Regions from separate parts of the Homo sapiens genome. Here region 2 is linked to region 1. The links are contacts of gene promoters, found by promoter capture Hi-C in human tissues and cell types (Jung and others, 2019). All regions are on one chromosome and are shown on one strand. Each heading gives the region's core, a stretch centred on a gene start or on the middle of the fragment in contact. The rest is flanking DNA. Distances are from core to core; before and after follow the strand shown. Region 1 holds the start of NPAS1 (neuronal PAS domain protein 1). Region 2 overlaps ARHGAP35 (Rho GTPase activating protein 35).

Region 1 (3,266 bases), core at 522-3,021:
GCGGGCGGCGCGGAGGAGGTGTCGGCGGGGCCCCGGGGCTCAGGGGCTTGGGAACTGGGGGCGAGCCCCGCCTCCCGGGGCCTTGGGAACGGGACGGGACGTTGGGAGTGGATTCCACATCTCTGGAGGTGGGAGCAGACCGGAGTGTGGATTTTACACTCCGACCCAGGGACAGAACCTCGAGTGTCAATTCTGGTGGGAAGGAGGAGGAAGGGCGAGAGATTAAAGATGTTGGGCGTGAATTCTGAGGACCGGGACTAGAAGCAGAACGCAGGGGACCGGGCTCAGGACGGTAGTTAACTCAAGGTAAGACCTTCTAGCCCTAAGGGGCGGGTCAGGGAGCTGGGTGTGAACTGCCCCTTGGCACGGGGACAGAACATCGGGTGTGAATTGGACCCGGGGGGGGGCCCGCGGCCAGGGGGGCGGGGCTTTGCTCACCACGGTCCGGACGGCGCCTTGACCATCAGCCCGGGTAGAAAGTCCCAGGGGACGCTGGCGCCGCGGCCTCCCACGCATTTGACCTCGCTTCCGCCGCCACTGCCGGGATAGGGGGCCGCCATCTCCGGGGGGCTCGCTCAGGCGGGCTCCGAGCCCCGAGTCTCCTGCAGCGGGAGGGGGCCAGGGGCAACGCTTAGTGCCCTCGGGAGACCTTCTAGGGAAACTGAGATCCGTGCAGGGCTCAGGGTCCCAGCAAGGAGCTGGGGGGGGGGGGGCCTGGATGATGCCTCAGTTTCCCCTACCTGGAGGCCTCAGCTCCCACCCTAGCCGGCCCGGGGCTGGCGCTCCGGGTGAGGACGTGCCCCGCCGCCGCCTCCCCCGCGCCGCCCGCCAGCGCGCCCGCCTCACGCCCGCGCCGGGCCGGCTCCCGCATACCAATGGGCGCACGCGGCGCGCATACGGATCGAACCGGCCCGCGCGCTGCGTGCCAAGCATGCCCAAGCCGGGCGGGGGGCGGGCGCCTCCCGGGCCAGGCACGCACGCCCCAGCCCCCGGAGCCCTCTGCCCCGAGGACCCGCCCCCCAAGCCCATCCCCGGTGTCTGACTCCCCGGATCTGCACCCTGTTTTCCCGGCTGGGCTAAGGAGGCAGGGGGCAGAGGGCAGGGACCCCCATCCTGTGTCCTGCCCAGGGATCCCCCCAGCCTCTCGGGATGGCGCCACGTGTTCGGACCGCCACATCCCCACGACCACAACTTCCTCCCTGAAGACCCCGGCGCGCGAGCCCCAGCCCCGGACGCAGCCGCCGCAGCCTCTGCCCCAGGACGCCCCCAGGATTGACCCGACACTCGGGGCCCAGGTGTCCTGGTCTCCTGATCCCCTAACGTTTTCAGTTAGGTCTTCATTCCTCCAGGACCAGGCGTTCAGAACACCCCCTAACCCCAGGAACCAGGCCGCCCCCAAACCTCCCAGCCAGGTGTCCAGATGCCCCAGACCCCCGTGTCCAGGTCTCCCAACCCCAGATTTCTCCAGGACTCAAACATCCGTGCGCCCCTTCCCCCAGGCTCGGGATACCCTCGTCCCACCCCCTATCCCCCAGGACACTGGAGTTCCAGCCCCCCATTCCTCTGGGACCCAGAAGTCCCCCTCCTGCCAGCCCGCAAGCTTCCCCTACCCGCAGGACCGCCAGTCCGATTACTTGGCCGCAGAGCAGGCTCCGGGCGCGGCGTGGGGCCGGCCGGGCGGCGCGGAGGGGCAGCTCCATAGACCCCGGGGCGCGCGGGGCGCAGCGGGACGCGCGGGCTGTGGCGCCCAGCTCTCGGCGCCCACCTCGGCCTCGCAGACTTGGAGACGCGCGACCAGCGCTGCGGGCGGGGGCGGGGTCTGCCGGAGCCCCGCCCGCCGCGTCTCCGCCCCCGGACCCGCCCTGCTCGCCTTTCCCTGGTAGGGGGCCAAGCTACCCTGGGGTCCGAGTTCCCTTGCCCCACGGTAACGTCGGGGGTCAGAATGTAGCACCTCGGATCGGAGCTACCCCACTCCAAAAGGGGAACAGCGGAGTCCGGGCACTGTCTACACCCCTTCAGGAGGCAGTTAGTGCCCCAGCAGCCCCTCGGGACAAGACAGGTACCCTGCAGCCGAGCCCCATGTACGAGTGAAGACTCACGTCAGTGCTTCCTCCAGGGACACAAATCCAGAATTCGAGACCCTCCCTTTCCGGGAGAGAACTCCTGAGTGTCAGCACACTCTCCCCCCACAGGGCTGGGACTTCGCATCCAAACCCAACCCGCCTTAAAAGGGGGACATACACCTCCCTCGTCAGGGACCAGGATCCAGCTCTCTAAGGAGCTCCAGAGACCAGGATCCTGGCGTCTTATCTCCATCCCCCGCCGCAGGGACGGGAACCCTTACATCCAAGCTCCCCATTAGATCATAAATGGGAACTCAGGGGTTGTAGTACCTCGCACAGAGGACGGGAACCCAGGCGTCCAAGCCAGGCCTTCCCCAGTCTGATAGGAGGTCCTACAGTTCCCCTAGCTCCTTCTCTCCATGCAGCCCCCACTTCCCGTTCTCAGGGTCCTCCCTGGCATGGGGGTCTCCAGGCACTTAAAAGCCTCTACATGACCTTAACATGGGGAAAGAAAATGGAGCTGGGGCCGGGCGCGGTGGCTTACACCTATAATCCCAGCACCTTGGGAGGCCAGGGCGGTTGGATCACCCGAGGTCAGGAGTTCAAGGCCAGCCTGGCCAACATAGTGAAACCCTGTCTCTACTAAAAATACAAAAATTAGCCGGGTGTGGTGGTGGGCGCCTGTAATCCCAGCTACTCGGGAGGCTGAGGCAGGAAAATCCCTTGAACCTGGGAGGCGGAGGTTGCAGTGAGCCGAGATCCCGCCACTGCGCTCCAGCCCGGGTCAGAGAAGGAGAGTCCATTTCGAAAGAAAAGAAAAGAAAAAGAAAATGGAGCAGGGAGTCTTAGAAGAGGCATACAGTCAGGGGCTTGCAGGGAGCACGCGCTGGCCTTTGGTTGGGCAGATGGGGAAACTGAGGCACACACAAACACCCGTGTGCATTTGCTCACAACACACAAACTCATTCATGATCCTCATAGTTAACACTTAAGGGAGTGCTTGTTTTTTGCTAATACTTTATTTTATAGCAAGATTCTGAGATGGGCTCTGTTACTAGATGCATTTTACAACTAGGGAAACCGAGACATGGGGAAGTGATATAGCCTGGTGATAGTGGCCTCTCAGACAACAGATCCTTATTTATCCCCAGAGAGACTTGCTAGAGTTTCAGGGCAAGGAATCAAGCTCAGATCATGGGCTCC
Region 2 (3,266 bases), core at 510-3,009, 130 kb after region 1:
GCAGATGTTACAGAGTCCTCACATACCCTTCACCCAGCTTCCCCTAATGTTCACATAACCATGGTGTATTTGTCAAAACTAAGAAATTAGCACAAAAAACTAAACTACAGACTTTCAGATTTTACCAGTTTTTCTATTTATTGCCTTTTCTGTACCAGGATCCAATCCAAGATCCCACATTCCAGTTAATTCAAAGGCTTTTAAAAATTCCTTTCTTTACTTTGGAGCACCACGGTTTTATCATTTTCATCAGTTTCCATATATGCTCCCCCACCCCCCATCTTCACCAACCCACTGAGAAGGTAAATATATCCTTTCAGTAACGAGTAGAAGGTACCAAAACTGATGATGTGGAGTACAAACAACTGTTAGGGAGTCAAGAAAATTTAACAAACATGAGACGGATGTACACATGCATACATACACCCACACCAGTTACAAAATGAACCTGGCCTAAGATGCTGCTTCCACTATCAAAGAGAAAAGAAACTCAAAATTCAAGCAGACATGTTTCTGCTTTTTCAGTTTTGCTAGTAGTAAATCCTTTTTAATCTCTCTCTCTTTAAAGATCCCAACCAACCCAAGAAGTCAAGACAAAATCACCTGAACACTCAATCCATCCTTAAAATTCTAGCAAAATCATCTGGGATTTGGGAAGGGAGAAAACAGTGATTCATCCTCTTTCCCACATTTTCACTAAGGATTCTTAAGCATTAGGATAGAAATTCAATCATATCGCAACAATCATTATAAAGACACTTTTACCAGTATTAGTCATACTTCTTTCTGTTACATTTATAACCTGCATTCTAAGCCTCCTCCATCTCCTAAAACTCCCAAATCTACAACAACCTTGAGTAACGCCCGATCCCTAGAATCAAGGGTGAATCACTGTAATGATAATAAAAACTGGCAATTTATCCTACAGTTAAAAAATACAACTATTAACAACGGTTTTCCCTGGGAGGAAGACTTTAAGGAATACTTTAACTTTCCTTGTATTTCAGCTAGTGAAAGCATTTAACAAATACATAAAGAGCACAGCCCTATGTCAGAATTAGAAGTAGGAAAAAAAGAAAAGAAAAAAAAAACCTCCCTTACGGAGCATAGTCTAGATCTGCACTACTTTGGCCATTTAAAGTTAAACTAATAATAATAAAAATTTTAAATTTAGTTTCTCAGCCCCACTAGCTACATTTCAAGTAGCAACACGTGACTGGTGGTTACCATAATGAATAACACAGAAAGTTATATTAGACAAGGCTGATGTAAAAGAAGACCTGATGCTAATTCAACCTTGGAAACAGAGAGGAGGCATTTGAAATGAGCAGCATTAAGGCAAGCACTCCAGGACGGACGACGACAACATAAACCACTGGCCTCCCTGCAGCATCATGCAGTACCCAATCTCCAAGGCTCTTCCCCGAAGTCAAAAGCAAAATACTTCAAGGAGGCATTAGAGAAATGAAATGGGTGACAGGCTTTGATTGTACTTTAAGATAAGCTTAATACCCTAAAATTTAAAAATCACATTATAAAAATCTATTTATAGCTGGGTGCAGTGGCACACACTTGTAGCCCCAGCTACTCAGGAGCCTGAGGCGGGAGGATTGCTTGAGCCTGGGAATTCGAGTCCAGCCTGGGCAACATAGTGAGAACTCATCTCTAAAAAGGTAAAAATTAAAAAAATTAAGATTAAAAAAATCCAATTAGGACCTCACTAAAAATAAAAAGGTGGAGGGGAAAATGGAACTGGAATTAACTGCTAGATCATTCTGGAAATCTTTAACAAGTAAGCTAAACTAGAGATCAAGAAGACAAACCAAAGAATGTACTATGCCCATCCAAATACCTTCCCGTGAGAGAAACATTTCCCAATGATCAAGGTTAGTATATGAAATCACCGGCATTAACCCCACATTAATAAAAACAAGTAGGGCCAGAGAGAGAGGAGGGAGGTGGGCAGAAGAGAGAGCACACAAACCCAGACCAGTACTTTCTAAGTGGGGGTAATTTATTATTCTCCTTCCTCTGAATCCTTAGCTTACATCACCTAGCATGCATGGCCTGTTTCCTATTCTGAGTAATGGGTACAAGGATAGTACCTACTTCATTGGGTTGTTATGTGGATTCCTTGAGTTAATACATGTAAAGTACATAATACAGTGCCTGGCATATAGAAAAGATTAAGGAAATATTTGCTATTATTATTGCAAGAGTCACAAACTATCTCTGAGGATCTGGTCTCACTTGTCCAAAAGTAAAATGATTTCCCTAAGGGTGAGTTCACAGGGGAATGAGATGTTGTGTTGACTATAAGAAGGGGCGCTTTTCAAAAGTCCAATCCATCCTAAGCTGAAACACCTTCCAATTATGTCCTATGGATTATTATTCATAATGCCCAAAGCCATGGGGACAGCTGAAAGAACTTCCGCAAGCTTTAGGATTTAGATATAGACCCCTGGGCCAGGCACAGTGGCTCAAGCCTATAATCCCAACACGTTGGGAGGTCAAGGCAGGAAGATCACTTGAGGCCAGGGGTTTGAGACCAGCCTGGGCAACATAGCAAGATCTCATGTCTACTAAAAATTTTAAAAAGTAGCCAGGCATGGTGGGTGCGCACCTGTAGTCTCAGCTGAGGCAGGAGGATCATTTGAGCCCAGAAAGTCGAGGCTGTAGCAAGCCATGATCATGCCACTGCACTCTAGCCCTTAAACCTGTAATCTTAGTACTTTGGGAGGCCTACGCGGGGGAATTGCTTGAGCCCAGGAGTTCAAGACCAGCTGGGGCAACATGGCAAAACTCCATCTCTACAAAAAAAATACAACATGGTGGCACATGCCTGTAGTCCTAGCTATTAGGGACACTGAGATGGATCATCTGAGCCCAGGAAGTCGAGGCTGCAGTGAGCTGTGAGCATGCCACTGCGCTCCAGTCTGGACAAGAGACCCTATCTCAAAAGGGGAAAAAAAAAAAAAAAAAAAAAAAGGATATCATCATTATTTTATAGATGAGAAAACTAAGGCCCCAAAAAGTTAAACAGCTGGCCTGTGGCAGTTTTCCTCAGTTTATGTTTAAAATGAGAATTATAAGTATATACCTACATATGTCCCTATAAGGCAGCTAGTTTCCTTGGGAAGGGATATCCTTTATTCTGAAGTTAGATCCTTTTTGTTGTTGTTGTTTTTGTTGCCCAGGCTGGAGTGTAGTTGGCACAATCATTGCTTACTGTAGCCTCCAACTCCTGGGCTCAAGTAATCCTCCTG

Evidence for each region. Contacts are between HindIII fragments. The study calls those that stand out against the background at their distance.
Region 2: a fragment that was not itself captured here is called in contact with the fragment with the promoter of NPAS1 in region 1 in 1 of the 25 tissues and cell types used here (dorsolateral prefrontal cortex).

Annotation. Positions count from the first base shown.
Region 1 is chr19:47,018,342-47,021,607 of GRCh38, reverse strand. NPAS1 (neuronal PAS domain protein 1) reads right to left here and starts at 1,771. Exons shown (of 12, transcript NM_002517.4): 1 at 1,611-1,771; 2 at 439-602. The coding sequence starts at 560. RefSeq lists a silencer at 1,775-1,834. The HindIII fragment of the contact is 24,576 bases long and covers 755-3,266 here.
Region 2 is chr19:46,884,216-46,887,481 of GRCh38, reverse strand. The region is part of intron 1 of ARHGAP35 (Rho GTPase activating protein 35); the gene reads right to left. Among named protein-coding and RNA genes, the nearest start is that of ARHGAP35, 25 kb to the right of the region's middle. The HindIII fragment of the contact is 4,791 bases long and covers 1-3,266 here.